Regions from separate parts of the Homo sapiens genome. Here region 1 is linked to region 2. Evidence: promoter capture Hi-C in human tissues and cell types (Jung and others, 2019). All regions are on one chromosome and are shown on one strand. Each heading gives the region's core, a stretch centred on a gene start or on the middle of the fragment in contact. The rest is flanking DNA. Distances are from core to core; before and after follow the strand shown.

The links. The method cuts DNA at HindIII sites, captures the fragments that hold promoters and counts their contacts. A contact is called where the count stands out against the background at its distance.
Region 1: a contact is called between the fragment with the promoter of NUFIP2 here and the fragment with the promoter of TRAF4 in region 2, in 1 of the 25 tissues and cell types used here (dorsolateral prefrontal cortex).

The regions. Positions count from the first base shown.
Region 1 is chr17:29,292,414-29,295,467 of GRCh38, forward strand. It overlaps NUFIP2 (nuclear FMR1 interacting protein 2), which reads right to left and starts at 1,735. Exons shown (of 4, transcript NM_020772.3): 1 at 1,370-1,735. The coding sequence starts at 1,646. RefSeq lists silencers at 404-583, 1,214-1,333 and enhancers at 1,040-1,800, 1,494-1,593, 1,904-2,103. The HindIII fragment of the contact is 16,686 bases long and covers 1-3,054 here.
Region 2 is chr17:28,742,435-28,745,549 of GRCh38, forward strand. It overlaps TRAF4 (TNF receptor associated factor 4), which reads left to right and starts at 1,577. Exons shown (of 7, transcript NM_004295.4): 1 at 1,577-1,821. The coding sequence starts at 1,679. It overlaps NEK8 (NIMA related kinase 8), which reads left to right. Exons shown (of 15, transcript NM_178170.3): 15 at 1-1,021. RefSeq lists enhancers at 653-1,653, 677-971 and silencers at 677-971, 1,426-1,835, 1,856-2,055. The HindIII fragment of the contact is 18,595 bases long and covers 1-3,115 here.

The DNA of each region.
Region 1 (3,054 bases), core at 485-2,984, 550 kb after region 2:
TTTTTTTTTTGTAGAAAATGAGCTGCTAGAAGGAAAAGGCCCAAGTGAAAGCCTCAGAGGCGGAGTCGTGAGCGAACCTGGCAGGAGACGAGGTTCCTGTGGCAGAGAAACTCGTGACCGGGGAGCTGGGTTCCCGCTGGGTACCCCACCCGGCCTCAGGCACCGCCTCTACCCGAAATGAATCCCCCCGCCGCCCCCCCAGGCCTCCTGCCTCTAGGAGCGCCGCGGCCGCCGCCCGCGGCCTCCTTCCCTCTCAGCTCCGCTTCGAGGCCGGCTCCCCGCCCCGACTGCCCGCGCCTCCCGCCGCACCCGGGAGCGGGAAACGCGGCCGCTGGCGCGCGGGGCCCTGCGCAGGCCGCTCCCCTCGTGGCCGCTTCCCTCCCCCACCCCAACCGCCCCCGCCCCTCACCCCAGGGACCCGCCCGGGGCCGCGCGCCGCCACCGGGTTACACAACCCCGGCCGGCGACGGGGGGGGGGGCGGCCGCGGTGCGGGGGGCGCCGGCGCCCCCGCAGTGCAGGGGGCGAGGCTGCGGCCGGTGGTGATCCCGGGTCACCCGGCTCCGCCGCCCCGTGTGGCCCTCGACACCCTTCCCCCTCCGCTCCTCAGTGGGCCGGAGTCGGTGACAGGAATCGGCTTCCAACATGGCGGACAGGAAGCGGCCCCGCGAGGAGGAGAGAACATTCCAGCCGCGCCGGCTCTGGGGGGAGCGGGCGCGGGGCGCCGGCCTCGGGAGGAGCCGCGGGACAAGACTGCGGGGTCCGGCGCCCAAAAAGGGCGTTTAGTGGTGGAAATGACCCGTGAGATGAGGGGTCCCAACAGCCCCCCCCACCGAGACGGGGAGCCCCAAGGCCACAGGTGGGCTTGGGGTGGCGGGTGAGGGGCACTTCCTCAACTCACCCTACCTACCCACTCCTCGCCGCCTGCAAAAGGGTCTCGCGACACCATCCGAGTCGGGATTCGCTAGGCCTTCCTGAGTTACACCTCGAGGGATTTTTTGGGGGGGTAGGTTTACCCCATCTCAGGGCCCCCAAATTGAGGTAACTCCAGGGACGCAGGGAGGTGAATGGGAAAAGAATAATGAGGTTGGACTTGCAAGGCCGACCCAGCAGGTCTCCCTTCAGCCGGGGCCGGGGCCAGGAAGGTCACGCTGGCCTGGCTGGGCCTCTCCCATGCTGGAGGGAAGGAGAGGGCGCTGCAAACCCCATTGCTCAGCCCGAGCTCTAGAATGAAAGGGGCATCCCCAGAGCCGGAGGGGACACACACACACACACCCCGACCCCGTCCGCGCTTTTCGGATCCAGCCCCACCCCCATCTCTCCTGTCCTCCACCCCCAACCCCCTTCCCCCACCCGTCCTCCCTCCCAGACCTGTTTTCTTCTTCGGCGTTTCCTGGTGCTGCTGGAGGGTGTGTTTCTGCTCATGTTTCAGCGGCTTTGGCTGGGCCTTGGGGCTGCCCTCGGCTCCATGCTGCAGGTATTGGTGAGGCTGCTGGTGATGATGGTGGTGGTGGTGGTTGTGGCTGTGGTTGTAGAAATAATAATGGTGGTGGTGGTGCGGCTGCTGCTGCTGCTGCTGAGGGTGATGGTGCGGATGGTGGTGGCTGTGATGGTGCTGAGGCTGTGGCTGGCCGGGCTTCTCCTCCATTGAAAGCGGCTGGGACTCCCTGGCTGAGGCTGCGGGCTGCTGCACCGTCAGGATCTGAGACTGCTTCTCAGGGCTCACTCAGTATATCTGAGCGCGTCTCGCCAGCGCACTGGTTAACCGAGCGATTCTGCGAGATTGGCAGCCGCACTCCAACAATCAGGAGCCACGCTGTGCCGCAAGCCCCGCCCCCAGCTCAAATCCTCTTTCCTTCCCCTTCGCCGCTGCCGCCTGGCCAACGCCACTTACCCTGTGCAACCTCACAGGGCCGGGCCTTCAACGTCAGCACTATGGCTCTCTCTTCTGTCGCTTTCTCTCCTTCACCACGCAGTCTGTGAACAGCACTTTCTACACTCCTCGCCGGCAAGCAGGCTCGTGTCGAGGGTAGCAGATTCCACTGGCGATTCCACTGGTGCTGTGAGCCATCTGCTGGCTTTGCACCTCTTAGAATCTGGTGTTTTTTTGTTTTTTGTTTTGTTTTGTTTTTAATCCTTTTCCGGGTAACCAGAAAGGGAAGCTCAATTCCCTTAACCCCGAGACCACTAAAGGGGCAATACAAAAAGAGGAAATAAATACATTTTTAAGCATACAAGAGCTTCACAATCCAGTAGATCATTTTGTATTCTGGATTCATTTTGCTTTGTATTCATATGCTAATCTCTTCCTTTCCACGAAGGGATTATAGGGTTCCACAATGGGGTATCTGTGTAATTTTCTAAAAGGGCACAAAGGGTTTAAATCATTGTTTCTTTGTAGTTGGAGGCAAGGGAGAGCAGGAGGAATGAAAATTTACACTGAAGGTTTTTTTTTTTTTAATTAAACTCTGCAGGTGAGGTCAACTGTGGAACCAAAATAGGTTTTAGAATGAGAAGTTTCAAGAGCAAAGGAAGGGGAGAAAGAGCACTTAAAAGTTATTAAGTGGGTTTGTTTTTTTTTTTTTTGGCACTTATGGAAAAATTGAAATTAAAAGAAATATTCTGTAGCGTTTTGTAGTGTAGATTTAACTTATCCTGCATTACCACATCACAGTATATGATTTTCAAAAGCAAATGTTAGAGCCATGATAGTGGTTACTCAGGAAGGAAGAGGGTTGTGATGGGGAGGGACACAGGTTACTCTGATAATATTTCATTTTGGGGGCTAGGTGGTGATTACATATATTTGCTTAGTAATTATTTGTTAAACTGAATATACAGATAAAATGCACTTTTCCCAATGTATGTTATAGATTGGGGGATTTTTTTAATTGTAAAATATTCATAATATAAAATTTACCATCTTAATATTAAGTGTATGGTTCAGGTGCATTAGGTACATTCGTATTGTTGTAGAACCATGACCATCATCTATCTCCAGAACTTTTTCATCATTCCAAACTGAAACTTCATACCCAATAAAAATAAATGTCCTT
Region 2 (3,115 bases), core at 327-2,826:
TACAAAAAAATTAGCTGGGCGTGGTGGCACGCGCCTGTAGTCCCAGCTGCTCAGGAGGCTGAGGCAGGAGAATGGCGTAAACCCCTCCAGCCTGGGCGACAGAACCAGACTCCGTCTCAAAAAAAAAAAAAAAACAAAAAAGGCTGAAGGCAGCTGTAGCTCCACACAGACCCTACCCTTTCCCCTAGCCCAGTTAGAAAATAAGTCTGGGCCGGCGGCGGTGGCTCACACCTGCATAGGCAGTGCTTTGGCCAGGAGGATCCCTTGATCCCTTGTGGCCAGGAGTTGGGAGACCAGCCTGGGGACCATAGCGAGACCGCTGTCTCCACCAAAAAAAAAAAAAAAGAAGAAAATAAGGCTGGGTGCGGTGGCTCACGCCTGTAATTCCAGCACTTTGGGAGGCCAAGGCGGGCGGATCACTTGAGGTCAGTAGACTGAGGCCAGCCTGGCCAACATGGTGAAACCCCGTCTCTACTAAAAATACAAAAATTAACCAGGCATGGTGACGGGCGCCTGTAATCCCAGCTACTCTGGAGGCTAAGGCAAGAGAATCCCTTGAACCCGGGAGGTGAAGTTTGCAGTGAGCCGAGATCGCACCACTGCACTCCAGCCTGGATGACAGAGCAAGTCTCCCTCTCAAAAAAAAAAAAAAAAAAAAAAAAAAAAAAGTATTTGGTGCTTACCGGGACTCTATCTCCATACTTTGGAGCAGGGCAAGCCAGGGCCTGCCTGGACTGGCCATTAGGCCTGCCTAGCTTCTGCATAGCCCGGGGCTGGGCGGTCCCCGGGAGTGCTGCCACCTCCCCTACACTTTCATCCTGAGGCAGGATTTGCTAGACGTCGGCTTGCCTCTCTTCCCCAGCAGGAGGGCAGGAGTCACTAAGTGCTGCAGAAAAGATCCGCGCTGGAGATTGCCCGTCCCCCCCATGCCTTTCCCCAGAAACAGTTGAGAGAATGGGTAGCTGGTGGGACCAGACCGGTTTCCCAGAGGACAGGAAGGCCAATAAAAATATCAGCTGCCTGCCTGGAGTGTGGTGTCTTCAAGGGTGGGGGTGGCGACCAGGCACCCCAGGACTGGGCTGGGCCCGACCTCGGTGGCAGGGCTGCGGCCAAGGGAGGAATGTGGGCGCAGCCGGAGGCTGGGGCCGAGGTTCCTCTGGCCCAGCGCCCAGTCCAGCCTCCCCGCCCCAGCTGGGCTCCCCGGAGCTGGTTGCCAGGCTTCGGCTGCCTAGCACCTGGAAGCTGGGGCCACGGTTCCTGGGCTGCTCACGGCCCCGGAGGCCGAGCTGTTGCCTCTGGAGAAGAAAACCTTTGTGGCGCGGCCCGTCCCCTTTTCCGACCCGCACTTCCCCGGGGCCCGCGGGCTCTGGGGAGAAGCGGAGCCACGATCTCTGTCCCCCAGGGGAAAGAAAAGCCCATGATCCCGTGGGTGGGCGAGACTGGCGGTCACCAGACCCAAAAACCATGCACTCGGGGGTGGGCGGGGCCGCGAGGGCGCGCATTAGGACCGCGCGGCCGCGGTCCGCCCTCTCTTCCGGAGGGCGGGCTTCACAGCCGAGCCCTGGCCGCGACCGCCAGTCGGCGCCGCCCGGAGCCGGGAGCGCCGCTCCAGCGAGGCGCGGGCTGTGGGGCCGCCGCGTGCCTGGCCCCGCTCGCCCGTGCCGGCCGCTCGCCCGCCATGCCTGGCTTCGACTACAAGTTCCTGGAGAAGCCCAAGCGACGGCTGCTGTGCCCACTGTGCGGGAAGCCCATGCGCGAGCCTGTGCAGGTTTCCACCTGCGGCCACCGTTTCTGCGATACCTGCCTGCAGGAGTTCCTCAGGTGCTGGCCGGGGAGCAGGGGACAGCGGGGGCGGGGCGGGGCGGGGGGCGCCGCCTGGGGAGGGTCTCGGGCCCGGGGCAAGGCGGGCCTTTGTCTGCGCTGCGACCCTGTGACCTCAGGGGCGCCCCGTGACGTCACGGGGAGGGATGACGTCAAGCCCCGAGGGAGGCCCCCCCCGCAGGAATCCGAGGGGTCCGGGCGGGTCCCAACTGCCCGGCCCGGGGCGGAAGACCTCGGCGCCTTCTCGTGGGGTCAGGAGGGGAAGAGGCCCTTCCCCGTCACCTGAGAGCCGGCGCGGCCTCAGCCTTGAACTTTGAATCCTGGGGGAAGAGGACAAAACCCGCTCCCGCGTGGCAGTTTGAGCCTCCGGAGCTTTCCCCCATCTAACCTCTTCTGATTCTTCGAACGTTCAGAGAACGGTAGCTATTGTTCTCCCATTTCACAGATCATGAAACGAGATTCAAAGAAAGGCTGCGACTTGCCCAGGGTCACATAGTTACTTAAAGGCTTAACTAGGATTTAAACCCGGACTGCTTATGATCACACAATGGAGGAAGGACTGAATCCTCCCCCGAAGAAGGACCCCTCTAGGCGGCTCCCCTCTCTCCCGGGGGCTGGAGTAAGGCGGGTGGTCCATAAGTCATGAAGAAGGGGGTCGCACTCGTGTTGTTACTGAACTCCCGCTGCCCTCTCAGGACGCAGGTTAGCCCTTGGCTCTTGGGCATCCATCAAGTTTCTGGGCGCCCTGTATGTCTTGAATCTCCTGCTCACGCAGGGAACCCCTCAGGCCCGGGTGTGGGAAGCAGGGTGAAGGAGCCCCGACTCTTCGGAGGTCATGCCCCCAGAGCGCAGGGGAAGGCCGAGTCGGCCACTGCCTGGCTGTTTGCTGGGACGAGGGGATCGAGGGCCTGGCAGGGATAGTACCTCTGAGACGCCTGCCTCCGGTGCTCCCTCCCGCCGTGCCTCCCTCCCTCGCTCGGTCCTCCGTAGCTCCTACTGGCGGAAATCTCAGCAGGCCCTTTGTTTTCTGTTCCCCACAGCCTGGGCCGGCTCCTGCCCTCACATATGCTCCGGCACAAGCTGCAGGACTGCCCCCTCCCCCTCGGCAGTGTACACATTTACTCTCCTACAGACACAGCCCCATTGTCTCCGCCACTGCTCTTCCCCGGCCCTCTGGGTTCCAGATGAGGCCAGCTGAGCCCCCCGACCCCCCCACAGCTGACCCACCCTGACTGCCTCGGGAAAGGAGCGGGGGAGGGGGCCGTCAGGCCGGATTCCTTCCACCACCTTCTTG